Linked DNA regions of Homo sapiens: all the other regions are linked to region 2. Evidence: promoter capture Hi-C in 16 types of primary human blood cells and fetal thymus (Javierre and others, 2016). All regions are on one chromosome and are shown on one strand. Each heading gives the region's core, a stretch centred on a gene start or on the middle of the fragment in contact. The rest is flanking DNA. Distances are from core to core; before and after follow the strand shown.

What was found. The method cuts DNA at HindIII sites, captures the fragments that hold promoters and counts their contacts. A CHiCAGO score of 5 or more calls a contact.
Region 1: a fragment that was not itself captured here is called in contact with the fragment with the promoter of RGMB-AS1 in region 2 in 3 of 17 cell types (activated CD4 T cells, total CD8 T cells and naive CD8 T cells); the score reaches 5.9 in activated CD4 T cells.
Region 3: the fragment with the promoter of RFESD here is called in contact with the fragment with the promoter of RGMB-AS1 in region 2 in 5 of 17 cell types (total B cells, non-activated CD4 T cells, total CD4 T cells and 2 more); the score reaches 6.6 in total B cells.
Region 4: a fragment that was not itself captured here is called in contact with the fragment with the promoter of RGMB-AS1 in region 2 in 1 of 17 cell types (activated CD4 T cells); the score reaches 7.4 in activated CD4 T cells.

What each region holds. Positions count from the first base shown.
Region 1 is chr5:95,545,150-95,548,350 of GRCh38, reverse strand. SKIC3 (SKI3 subunit of superkiller complex) reads left to right here. Exons shown (of 43, transcript NM_014639.4): 4 at 1,200-1,290. The coding sequence starts at 1,201. Among named protein-coding and RNA genes, the nearest start is that of SKIC3, 8.2 kb to the left of the region's middle. The HindIII fragment of the contact is 219 bases long and covers 1,653-1,871 here.
Region 2 is chr5:98,770,765-98,774,333 of GRCh38, reverse strand. RGMB-AS1 (RGMB antisense RNA 1) reads left to right here and starts at 1,250. Exons shown (of 2, transcript NR_033932.1): 1 at 1,250-1,712; 2 at 3,150-3,569. RGMB (repulsive guidance molecule BMP co-receptor b) reads right to left here and starts at 671. Exons shown (of 3, transcript NM_001366508.1): 1 at 128-671. The coding sequence starts at 263. RefSeq lists enhancers at 1-309, 1,045-1,094, 3,473-3,569 and a silencer at 195-824. The HindIII fragment of the contact is 10,132 bases long and covers 1-3,387 here.
Region 3 is chr5:95,644,753-95,648,110 of GRCh38, reverse strand. RFESD (Rieske Fe-S domain containing) reads right to left here and starts at 1,334. Exons shown (of 6, transcript NM_001131066.2): 1 at 1,294-1,334. The HindIII fragment of the contact is 4,150 bases long and covers 1,025-3,358 here.
Region 4 is chr5:95,612,681-95,616,104 of GRCh38, reverse strand. No RefSeq gene overlaps it. Among named protein-coding and RNA genes, the nearest start is that of GPR150, 5.7 kb to the left of the region's middle. The HindIII fragment of the contact is 4,485 bases long and covers 1-3,424 here.

The DNA.
Region 1 (3,201 bases), core at 513-3,012, 3.2 Mb after region 2:
CAAACTTCTTTGGTCTCATACTTCTGTGTTAGCTTCTTCTTTGGATATAAAGGACTGTCAGTGTACCATGTCAGTGATTCATCTTTTTGGTACATTTTACTCCCTTGAGCATCTGAAGCCTATAAATACTTAATATTTACCCCAGCTTTGTTTTACCTTTCTATGAGATTAGAGGAGCTGACAGAAAATACAAATATTTCTTTTTTTCAACATTGAATTATGATTGAATTAGACTTGTTTATAGGTAAGCCAGAATAAGTTGTGTAATCTTAAAATATGCTAATTTATTTAAAATTAATATATCTTAAGACTAAATGAAGAAATACTTTCTCTACTAATTAAAATATCTTTTTATGGCTGAAATTAGTATACAACCCTTTTGCATTATCCATTGCTTCCATTCAAGTTTAAACATTGTTTTTCTTTAGAAAAAGTACAGGTAATAAACCTACAGTAATCCTTATTGTGAAGAAAGTTAATATCTTGATTTATGTTTCACAGAAACTAGCATTAAAACAATGCTTTCTTAAACTTTCATATCACAGTCACTGAAATTATTTGTGTTAGTGTTTTATCTGTGACTTGGGCTTATTCTACTGGATCTAGCTTTGTATAGAGTGGGAGAGTTGGATTGAGATTGGTATGTGTTTTGAGTCCTGATCAACAAGATCATTTGTATTTTAGCCAAAATATATAGAGAATGAATGTAAATAAAATATAACTCAATTTCAACACTTATTAATTGATCATCTATAATTTAAGATACTAGGTCCTGGGGATGCGGCAGTGAAAAAAAAAATTCTTGCCTGCATGGAACTTAGCTTCTTGTGGGGTTGGGACCCAGAAAATAAACAGGATAAATAAGTAGAATATATAGTATATTAAATGTGACAAATGCTTTCAAGAAAAATAAAGCAATGGAAGGGGTTCCGGAAATAATGGGTTGTTGAGAGTAGGGGGATGGCAAGATTAAAATGTTAAATAGCATGTCAAAGGAAGGTTTCATTGAGGAAGTGACATTTGAGTACAGATCTGAAGAGGTTAAGGAATAAACTGTGTATATTCTAGAGGGAAGACTGTTCCAGAGAGAAGGAGTCTTTTCCTTTTCCAGGGTCCCTTTTCAGATGGCTAAGTTTGTTGGAACATTTACGATTGGGTAGGTATTACTGTAGATTTACTCAGGCTTTCTGCCTTGACAGAATGTCCAGCAAGGAAGTGAAGACTGCTCTAAAAAGTGCTAGAGATGCAATCAGAAACAAAGAATACAAAGAAGCTTTGAAACACTGTAAGGTAACCAGTATTTTTTTCTTCCACAATGAAAGTATGTTACCCATTTATAAACATTGTTGATTTGTAATATGTGAATTATTTCCTGTCCAAACAGCAAAAGTGGTAAGGCCATTTAGTAGAACCATTAGAATGGTTGGACTTTTAACCTCTAGTTAGCAGGATAAACTACCTCTGCCAAACTTAACTTTCTCTGTATTGGTAACTTAACAAAACCAAGTTCTTAAAACCTGAATATCCCATAAATATCTTTTGATGGTTGTATCGTGGAATGCTACTGTATCTTAAAGTTTTCATTGTTTAATGGCATGTTAGTGTTCTATTTCTATTTGGTTTGTGGATGAGAGGACCAAGATTATAAAGCTTATTTTTATGCTGATGGGTATGATTCCATTCAGAGGGAGAAATTGGACTCGGGGGAGAGACAGAGGGTAGTGGTAGGAGTGAAGTCATCAGTAGGTGAGAGACACACTGGGATCCAGAGCTTGAGGGAGCCCTTTAATCCTTCTTCCATCTTAGCAGGAGAGAAGATAGGTGCCCATCCATACAGTGTTGGGCTTATAGATTTGGTGTTGGGAAAAGCTTTCTTCTCTAATGGCTTCTATTTTCTTGGCAAAGTATAAGATGAGACTGGGAGAAGACTTGGTTATTGGTTAGGAGGTTTGAGATAGCAGAAGGTATGAAATAGTTTCTTTCTTTGTTTTTTTTTTTGTTTTTTTTTTTTCTCATGGTGGGAAAAGAAACTTGCTAGTAAGGATTGGAAAGATTAGCAGGCCCTAGTGATTGCCCATTTGAAGTTTCAAGCTATTAAAGTGAAATTAGTGAACTCCGCTGTAGTTTTTCTCTTTGTATTCAGTTTCTCAGGTTTGGAGATGGGCATGATGGGGTTCAAGTATGGATGGAGAGAAAGAAGAAAGGAAAGACATGCAAAGGAAAGACATGACAAGGGAGTGATGACAGTGGTGAGCCCTGGAGTCTAAGCTGGGTAAAGAGGAATGAGAAATGAGAGGTGGGCTGATAGGCAATGGAAAAAGCGTTTAGGATAGAAAAAATTAGAGAAACCAAAGGTTAAAGATTTGTTACCATGGGACCACTACAGTAATTGAACTGGGACGGTTAGAGAGGAGCAGAATAGTACTGTGCTGGAAATTCAGATTTTGGATGGGTGAGTAGTGTGGTGGTCACATAACTGAGAGGCCAGAGTGTTCAACGGGATATCAACATGAATACAGGCACTGAGGTGGAAAAGAAGGATACAGAATTTTCACTGAAGGAAAGGGGAATTAGGAAGGTGGTAGACTGTAGCAACAAGAAGGCTATTTTTAGTAGTATAGTTGGATGGCCTGAGCTTCAAAGGTAGTGGGGTTGCTGAAGGAGGAAGGAGCAGTAGAGGACTGTAGGTGACAGACAGTGTGAGCAAGAAGCAGTTTCTCACCTTCTAGGCCTGTGGCATGTGAGCTGTAAAAGAAGTCATCTGCAATCTGTAGGATGTATAGGGGAATTAGCCATGTTTTCATTGAGGCAGAACTTGGTGTGGTTAAAAGAAAGGTTAAAAATATGGAAGGAACTTGGCTGACCCAGATTGGGAGTTCCAGAGGGCACAATGAAGAATTTAGGAGAGTGGTAGGGAGGGAATTGGGCAAGACTGGGCAGTATACATGGCAATATGAGGATGAGTCTAAGGAGTAAACAGGTAAAGGATACCCTTGTGAGGTTTAGGTTTCTGGTGGTGACTGATGGAGCCCAGCAGGGATGCAAGGACGTGATAGTATTAATCTTGATATAGAAGAAGGTGGGCAGTGTGTTCCAAGTGGGGACAGGTTGTGGATGGAATACAAGAAGGGAAGAAGGACTGTTTCCTTCAGCACTAGGTTTATCTAATTGATGCACGTTTCAGTTATATACAGCACCACC
Region 2 (3,569 bases), core at 1-2,500:
CTCGGGAGGCCTTTCCCGTTGCGCCACGCCGCCCTTCCGCCCCGGCGAGCGCCTTCGAGACCTGGGGCTATTTGGGAACAAAGCCCTAGGCCCCGGGGCTGGCTCCCCTCGCGCGCTCCCGTCCTACCTGCGTGGAGCAGCCCGAGGCTGAACAGCAGCAGCAGCAGCAGCTCCAGCGGCGGGGGGCAGAGCCCGGGGCTGCGGCGCTGCTCAACCTCGGCGGCGGCAGCGGCGGCGCTGGAAGGTGCTGCTCTCAAGCCCATGCCCGTCCATGCAGGTCTCGTGGGCTCCGGCGAGGGCGGCGGCGCGGGCGCCGTGGCGGGTCTGGGCCCGTGGCTGCGGCATGGGCCGGGGGGCGCGCTTCGCTTCCTCTTCTTCCTTCTTCAGGCCCGTGTAGCAGATGGGGCGCCACCACCGCCGCAGCAAGCAGCGCGCAGCCGGCGCAGCCAGTCCGCGGCGGCAGCAGCGGGGCGCAGGGGCATCGTGGCGGCCGGAGGCGGCAGGCAGGGAAAGGGGCGGAAGAGAAGACACAAAGACCGTGAGCGACTGCTGAGACGAGTCCCGAGCGCGCCGGCACCCCGGCCCCAGCCAGCGTGGGCTCGGCGGGCGTGGACCTCCAAGAGGCTGGCCCAGCCCTAGCGACCACCCACCGGCGGCCCGGATATCTCTGCGCGGCAGCCCCCGCGGTCGATCAATCTCAGTCCCGCACTGCCGTCCCGCCCCGCCCTGTGCCCGCCAATCCACGACGCCATAATCCCCCGCCGTGTCCCTCCCTTCCTCCCCATTGGTTGTGACCGCACGTCAGCCCGACTCAGCCTGCCAATCGCAGGACCCAGAGGGCCCTCTCCCCCGCCCGCTCAGTGTAATTCGAGTTCCCTGTCCATCGACTCCAAGTCCTCTCTCCTGCGCCGCATGCTGCCTCGCGCTCCCTTTCCTTCCCCCTCTACCCCCTTCCGCGATTTACTGTTTCCTCGCGCCCAACAGAAATGGGCGACCGCAAGTCTTACTCTCGCCGGCGTTACAAAGGTACCGGCCTTTGACCTCTCCTTGAATTAATGTGATCCGATTCATCTTCCCTCCAAGTTTTTTTTTTAATTTAATTACCCCTCCCTGCCCTGGCCCTGCCAGCTTCAGCTCCACCTCCTTGGAGGAAGCAGGCGCTTTTACAGAGCGCCGCGCGGCAGGTCCCCTTTCAGCCAATCACATCTGCGGAACCGCGTTCCGAGTCGTTTGAGGGTGTCTGGTAAAGCAAGCTCGGGGCGGTGTTGGAAATCTGAATGTCACCCGCGGTCCGGAGCAGATAGGATGGGCTGGGAAGGTACCCGCGAACTGCCGCCGGAATTCGCTGGCAGCTGTGCGAGGCTCAGGTGTTCTAGTTTGACATTTCCCTTCCTGAAAGCGGCAAGGAGAGGTCTAAGAGTGGGCAAACTTCAACGTTCGGTTACAGTGTAATTAATGAGAGTGGTGGGTTTTTATGCAGTGTAATTATGCCACGATTTGTTGTTGCTCAGTGGCTTTTTCACAAATTTCTACAGATTATTTAAATTTTCCACAAATTTCTACGGATTAATTCAATGGCAGCTCACTTTCTCCTTTTATGATCGGATGGGTCCGAAAGTGAGGAAAAAGACAATTGTCTACAAAGAAAGAGGCTGCCAAGTGGAGACAGAAAAGCAGTTATGAGACTGATGATAGATTCCAATTTGTTATCGGTAGGTGTGAAGTGGTATCTAATCTCAAGAATGACCTCAAGGCTGAGAGACACTTGATACCGCCCTCGCCTTTGCCTTTCCCCAAACAGCACAGGGTTGCCATTTAAAATCCACTAACATCCAAATCGTAGTTGGCAACTGTACCCGCTATGTTACTCAGAATCTCTAATTAGGAATTTCTTATCAACCACGGACATGCTGATATTCCACACATGTTTAAATGAGCTAATCAATGGACTAGGATAATTGAGGGGCAAACCTTCAGTCTCACCAGCTCACTTATTAGACACATTTTGAATTGCCCAAACCACTAGGTCCCTAATGAAGGATGCCTATCTGTTTTTACTGTAACTTTTCATTACTTACTTGTTACATACTATGATGACTTAAGGGGTAAACACACCTTTCACTATCCACAATATAATCCAAGCCTGTGTATATCCATAATACGCTTAATAATAGCTTCACAGTTGCCTGGAGAAATGACTTTTGGGGAGGAAGTTATATGACATTTTTAGATAATGCTGCGGACTAAGTATTATTAGAGCAAAAATTTACTATCTTGCAATTACTTCATATAATTAGATACAGTTCATGACATACTAAGAAGCATCTTAAAAAAGTAATCAAACATAATACTGATTTTCAAAGTATTTGGCTAACAAAGACTACATTTTTTTCTCTTAACCCAAGATTTAATTCGACCCCTATAAAAGCAGCATCTCACTTTATTGATCATACTTCAAAGCATATACTCAATAGTTAAGGATCAATAATTTCTGTTTGGTTTGGGTCTTTCCACTCGTGACTTTCTATGATTTTTTACTCCCCTCCCCCTATATCCTGTTCCATAAGTACACGGGTGCTCTAGATTTTCCTATCAATAGAGGGCGTCCTCGAGTCATTGCAAATCCTGGTGTCGTTAAACGGAACTGTTCTTCAGAGGAAAAACTTCATCTCTATAAGGTGCTTTATTGCTCCTCTGTTGTAAAATTTGACAAGCTCGAGATTTATAAGCCTAACAATTCACTTTTTATTGCTGCATAAGTGTTCAGCCGCTAGAGGAAAATGCTAATTTTCACAAGTAAACCGCAAGGTGGTTCCTATTTTCAAGACATAGGTCAGTTGACACACTCGCGGGTAAATTCGTACTGTTCACAAGATCAGGAATTGGCTTGGAAAGCAAGAGCGTAGTGAATAGTCGCTTATACCGCAGCCACTCCTCAAGCCCGTGAGCTGCAAGTTACAAACGACTTTATATTGTACAAAGAAAAATCGGGGAGGGAGCTAGAACACAAACAAAAAAATCGGTGACTTATAAAAGTTTTATGTTTTAATCAGAAAAAAAATCATGAAGTGGCTGATGACTTGTGTAATTCACACATCCACCCTGTTTCTTGCCACTGGTACTCTTTCTCCCTTTCTCTTTGTTTTCAGAAAGGAAGGAGGAGACCTGAACAGTACATCCGGAGAATCCAGCAAAGCATACTACGGCATGAACGTGCAAGTGGACAGAATTAAAACACATGCCAGAAACACTAATGGATTCTAAACAAGATGCAGTTTCATTTCCTGAGCCTATACGTGATGTTTTTAACTGTTCTCCAGTTAATATGTCTCCATTTCCAGAAATCTAACAGGAGAATCTCTGACTGCTTAACAGATCACCTAAGCTTGCGATTTGTGCAATCCTTTCTAGAGTAAGGGCTCCCCGGCTGCTCCCCGGCCACTGTGTACCCAAAGCAGCGGCTGAAATAGCCCGGAGTCCAACAGCTCAGCGTCAAGCAGCTCGTGGTTTGTACTTACATCATTTTTTTTTTCAGAGCAAGAGTGAAAGTTTATTAAAAAGCGTTAGAA
Region 3 (3,358 bases), core at 85-2,584, 3.1 Mb after region 2:
GGGAGATAAAAGAAACATGAAGTGAAACGTACTTACTTGTCACTCGTCTTGAACCATGACTAAGATGCTTTTACCAAGTGTGGAAACTTTGCCTACACATTATCAGAATGCTTATCTCAAGTATGACACCCTTGCTTTTACATGCAGGGAAGAGAAATGCCTTAGAGAGTAGTTTTGGTATCTCTCTGAATGGCAGAATAATAACAGATAAAACTAGCTGTCCTTTAGTAAATGCCTACTGCTTGGACCCTTTGAATATAATAGTTCATTAGTCTTCACAAAACCGCCAACGGGTAGGCATTAGTTTTATTCAGGTAGCACCCACGTTTTTATAAAAACATGAGGCTTGCAAGTAAACTATCCTGAAGACACAGAAACCTTTTAGCAAAGCAAATATGTATATTGGTGATATATATAGTATTGATATTTATATTTGTCACCAAAGATGGTCCTGAATTAAAAAAAAAAAGGAACGCTAATGTGCAACAGCTATGTTCACGAATGTTTACAATTGAACGCTTGCCCAATAATTTTATATAAAGTCACAGAGCTGCTCTGGAAATCAGCACCATCGTATGATGTTGAATTGTGATCACGAGTGAGCTAGACCTGGGTTTGCATCCCAGTTCTGCGTGATTTGGGGCAAGTTGCTTAACTTCGCTGTGCTGCAGTTTCTTTTACTTTAAGAAGGGCCCGCCACATAGGGGTGTGGGTAAAGCACATAAATGCTTTAACACATGTCAAATGTTTAGAGCAGGCCTAACCGCAGAAAACGCTCACAGCGCGTTAGCTGGCACCTCTAAGGTCCATCCAGCTCTGGCAGTTATCCTGCCTAACTTCAAGTTGTGTTTAACATTTCGGTAAAGACCGCCTGCAGTTCTGAGACTGCACGTGGCTGTCCAGGTGCTGCAAATTCTCGACACAGACTCCAGGAGGCGAGTATCTCCAGGACGGCCGGGGCTGCGGAAGCCCTGGAGCAGCTTCTATACTTTAGAGCTTTCATGGCACAAATGCCATGAAAGCTTGTTAAAAACGACCCGCGTACCCCCCTTAGGTGGCAGGTCTCAGGTGTGGCCCAAGTTTCAAGGTGAACAAGCTCGGTGAGTCTCCTGTGCCTGGGCGGAAGCCCGCCTTGGCGGGTTAACCGTTAACTAACGCTGAACCAAAACCCAAGAGGGCCTCAGGCCCCGCAGCGGCGCGGCCACAGCCGGAATGAGGAGTCCACGCCCGCAGCCCAGCCGGAAGCAGCTGGTCCCGCCAGCCCGCCCCCTGCGCGGCGAGAACAGAACTTACTGTCCCCGAGTCCTCGCTCCGCCTCCGCGTGACGCTACTGCACGAGCCAGAGCTCCAGACGTGCGCGGCGCCTCGACGGGGGCGGGGCGAGGCCGTCCACGTGACCCAAGAAGGCCCGCCCCCGGGACCGCCTCTATGGCATTGCCGGCAGATGACCCTGGTTGATAGAGATCTCTGGCCAACAGCGCCGCGCCAGCACCTTCAAACTGGCAGGCATACTCGTGTACTTGACAAATGTGGATAGCATCAGTTTACTTTTTAGTTGTTTGTTGATCTCATTACATTTATTCAAATTTTAGATGCGCCCAGCGACTTCATTCAGTTATTTACCCTATAAAAATATTTGCAGAAGGTCGTCGCGATGCTGGTAACCCATGTATAAGGATGTTAAGGCCGGGCGCGGTGGTTCACGCCTGTAATCCCAGTACTTTGGGAGGCCGAGGCGGGCGAATCACCTGAGGTCGGGAGTTTGAGACCAGCCTGACCAACATGGAGAAACCCCATCTCTACTAAAAATACAAAATTAGCCGGGCGTGGTGGCCCAGGCCTGTAATCGCAGGTACTCAGGAGGCTGAGGCAGGAGAATCGCTTTGAATCCAGGAGGCAGAGGTTGCGGTGAGCCGAGATCGCGCCGTTGCACTCCAGCCTGGACAACACGAGCGAAACTCCATCTCAAAAAAAAAAAAAATGTTTATTGCTGTGAAGTAGTGAAAATAGCTGAAGTGATAACACGGAGGAATGGTTCAATAAAACACAGCACAACAGTACAGACATGTGAATTACTTCGTAGCTGTGTACTGTATACTCAAAGGACAGGCCCATCATGTAATGAATATTAAAGGCAAAGCGTAGAATACTATATATGGTGTCCTCTCTTTAATGTAAACAATTATTTTTTGAAATACAAACATGCAGGTATGTACATAAACTTTTTCTCGAAAAATCAAAAGAAACAATAGTGGTTGCTTTGGGAGGAGATGGAGAGTTTTCACTTTCATATTATGAACTTTGCAATTTTGCTTTTTTCTCATTGTACTTCCCTGAATTGACAACAACAACAACAAAGAAAACCACCAAAACCCTCATATTTGTGTTCCGAGCTGGGAAACTAGATGAGCCTAAGTTTTTAATTTCCTTGACTACTTTCCAGTGCAGTGATTCTTAACCCTGGCTATGCCTTAGAGTCGCTTGGGAGTTTTGAAAAGTCGTAATGCCCAGTCTGTATGCCAGACCAACAAAATAAAACACAGATTATTTGGGGTGGGAAGGGAGTGGGCAGATTCAATGTATGTTTTTAACTTCCTGAGTGATTCCAGTGTGAACCCAAGGTTGAACACTACAACTTGTATTTAGTATGGTGACATAGTGATCTCAGGCTCTAGGGTGGCCCAATGAACTGGGGCAGCCGAAACCCAGGAACTTTGTCCATTTACCTCAGTGTGCTATATAAATGCCATTTTTTAAATGAGCCTCAACATGTAAGAAGTTGAATAGCTCAGAATAATTTGTTTCCAGTGCTAGTTTCTTCTGTTTTTTTTCTCTTCAATACAGTTTTATGGTGATCAATAATATTTTATTGGGTCATTTCCCTTTTGGCCATTTTTTTCACTGACCCAAACACAAATTAACTATCTAGTTTTGATGTATCAGTTATCAAAGATATAAAATATATTTTGATTTATTGTAATTTCCATTATCTGTTAGTCATCCCAAATGATTTTATTGGCACATGGAAGGTGTTAGTAGTCCCCAGCTTGTCATCGAAGGATTAAATAAGGTTTGCCATTTTAGAAATCCTTTTTTGCTTTGTCATATTCTGGGCATTAAAAAAGGACACATCTTAGATCCATCGACCTTAAATTTGATATTGAATAAACTGAAGACCTCAGTAGTTATACATGCATATACACACAAGTAGGATGAAAGAAGAGAAACTTTCTTTTATCTCTACCAAAAGTATTCATATGGTTAGTCATGTGATGTTTGGAAAGCTATAATGGAGGTCAGAATAAACTACCCTTCTCCACTTCCCAAGTGCACACACACACAAATGCACAAAACCATT
Region 4 (3,424 bases), core at 326-2,825, 3.2 Mb after region 2:
AATGGATTACAATTATTTAAATAGCCCCCTATTTTTAGACAAAAGTTTTTCTCATTTTCACTTTATAAATAATTCTGTGAAGAACATCTCTTCACCTACATCCTAGCACATGCATTCAATTATTCCCTTATGATAAAATCCTGTCATTGGAATTGCTGAGGCTGAGCACGTGCATTTTTAATGCATTTTAACATATAGTACTGAGTTATTCTCAACAAGGGATGCAAGCAATGTATGTGTCTTTTTCCCCATAGCCCCAACAATATGAGCATCATCAGCGTTTGTCATTCTCATAGATGAAAACACTTCATTATTTCTTCATTTTAAAAATTGAGATATACTTTATATATCATAAAATCTAGAATTTTAAAGTATACAATTCAGTGCTTTTTAGTATATTTACAAGTTTGTGCAACCACTGCCACTATCTAATTCCAGAACTTTTAAATCATTCCCAAAATAAACCCGTACACATTATTTTCCTCTTCCAGCACCTAGAAACCACTAGTCTCCTTTGACTCTATGGATTTGGTTATTCTTGACATTTCATAGAAATGCAATCACATAATGTAGCCTTTTGTTTTTGGTTTCTTTTGCTTTGAATAATGTTTTTAAGTTTCATCCACATTGTAGTATGTAACAGTATTTCATTATTTATGGCTAAATAATATTTCATTATGTGGATACACCAAATTTTGTTTATCCATTCATCAGCTGATGGATATTTGGGTTGTTTCTATTTTAGGCTGTTTCCATTTTGGTTGTTTTCATTATAGTGAACAATTCTGTTATGAATATTTGTGTACAAGTTTTTCTGCGAATGCCTGTTTCAGTTCTCTAGAGTATATTCCTAGGTGTGAAATTGCTGAGTCATATGTGAATTTCATGTTTAACTTTTTGAGGAACTGCCAAGCTGTTTTCCATAGAGACTGGGCCCTTCCCACCATCATTGTATGAGTTTTCCAGTTTCTCCCTTTGCGTAGATGCAGTTTCTCATTTGAGATCATATTCCTTCTGCTTAAAGAATGTCCTTTAACATTTCTTATAGTTCAGATCTGCTGGCAACACATTCTCTTAGTTTTCTTTTTTTTTTTTTCTGTCTTATAAAGTTTTTATTTTACCTACATTTTTGAAAGATACTTTTGCTGGGCATATAGGATTCTATGATGAGTTTTTCTTTCAGTACTTGAAAGAAGTTGCACCATTGTCTTCTAGTTTGCATAGTGCTTGATACATTTTGCTCATCTTTGTAATGATGTAATTCTTATCTTTTTGTTTGTTTATTTGTTTGAGACAGAGTCTTGCTCTGTCGCCCAGGCTGGAGTGCAGTGGTGCAATCTTGGCTCGCTGCAACCTCTGCCTCCCGGGTTCAAATGATTCTCATGCCTCAGCCTCCCAAGTAGCTGGGATTACAGGTGAGTGCCACACGCGGCCAGGCTGGTCTCGAACTCCTGGCCTCAGGTGATCTGCCCAGCTATGCCTCCTAAAGTGCTGAGATTACAGGCATGAGCCACCGTGCCTGGCTGGTTTCTTTTTTTGGAGTGTTTCTTTTTTTCTGTGGTTGCATTCAAGATTTTCCCCTTATCTTGCCTCACTGCAACCTCTGCCACCTGGGTTCAAGTGATTCCCATGCCTCAGCCTCCCAAGTAGCTGGGACTACAGTCATGCACCACCATATCCATCTAATTTTTGTATTTTTATTAGAGATGGGGTTTCACCATGTTGGCCAGGCTGATCTCAAACTCTTGACCTCAGGTGATCCACCCGCCTTGGCCTCTCAAAATGTTGGGATTACAAGCATGAGCCACCGGGCCTAGCCCTTTGTATATATTCTGCTTGGGCTTCTCTAAACATTTAGGTTGGTGATTTGTTGTCTTTTATTAATTTTGGAAAATTCTCAGCAATTATCTTTTCAATTATTTCTTCCGACCTTTTATCTCTTTCTATTCTCCTTCTGTGACTTGAATTACATGTATATTATGCCATTTCATACTGTCCCACAGCTCTTGGATGCTCTATTTTTCTCCACTTTTTCTTTTTCTCTTTTTTCCCCTCTCTGTTCCAGCTCTCCTCAGAGGGGCTTGCCACCTTTTGAAATTCAGGATTTTATTTTGAAAATTTTCTATTCTAACCTGTAGTCAAGTTTACTAATTCTTTCTTCTATCTCTAGTCTGCTGATAAGGCAATTGAAGGAATTCCTCATCCATAATAACATGTTTTTCATGTCTAGTGTATCCAATTTATTCTTTTTTGAATCATTTCCATCTCTGCTGAAATTCTGTATATGTTCGTGCATGTGGTCCACATTTTCCACTAAATCCTTTAACATATTAATCATAGCATTTTTACAGTTACTTTGACAGTTTCAACCTCTGGGCCATCTCTCAGTCTGGTTCTGTTTACTGCTTTATCTCTTGAAAATTGGCTTCTTTTTTTTTTTTCTTTTTAACTCTTTTGCCTTGTAAGTTTTACTGAGTGCCAGACATTATATATAAAAGAATAAGAGTGACTGATGTAAATAGTGTTTACTTCTGAAAATGGCCATGCCTCTTCACTCATCAGGCTACTAGGGTGGTAAATCTAATCAGTAGTTGAGCTAGGTTTAGATTTTGTTGTTACTACAGTTATCATTATTATACTGTTGACTTCATATTCCTCCATACTGACATCTTGCGTTTCAACTATGAGGCCTGGAATGGTAGAAGGTTTTTCTCAGTGTTTCTGCTCCATCCCCAACTTTCAGCTGGCCCTTCACACTTGGCCACCAGAGTGGGGGAGGGGACGGGGATGTTTCTTTCCAGGCTTTGGCCCCTCTCCCAGAAGTTCTGTGCTGTTTGCTGCCCATGATGGGGGCAGGGTGGCTTTCTTGGCCTTCCTGTTCCAACCTTTGTCTTATTCAGGCCCTGGGGGCCTGAGCCTCAAGTGTGGGAGTTTCTCCATAATCCTGTCCCTTCCCTCTATGGCAGCTGAATTCTGTCTTGTAACTTCCAAGAGCAAATTTCTTGGTTCTGTCCCTTTTGTGAGAAACCTTTGCTTTGTAACAAAGATTCTGGGCATGAATAGGTTTCTCCATCTTGCTTAGCAGTGATAGCTTTCGCTGTAATCTACCCCTCCCCAGTGACAGCTGACCTTTTGCTGAGGACTGGGGGTGAGAGTGTTTTCTGATCCTGCCCCAGTGGCAGATGTGTTTTGCTTTGTATGACAAAAAGTCCTGGGTTTTATGCTTGTCCTCAAGAGGCAGCCACTCTCTGTCTGTACACCCATCCCACTAAGGGGGCTCCATCAGGTCTTCTGCTCTGCCCCTAGTCTTTCTCTTTAAGTACCATATTAAGTCCATGAAAGAAAGCTGGTTAGTCAGTGGGCACACCGTGTGTGGGGGGTTCCCAGAGTTTCTACTGTTATTTTCACATGCATTTGGCCTTTA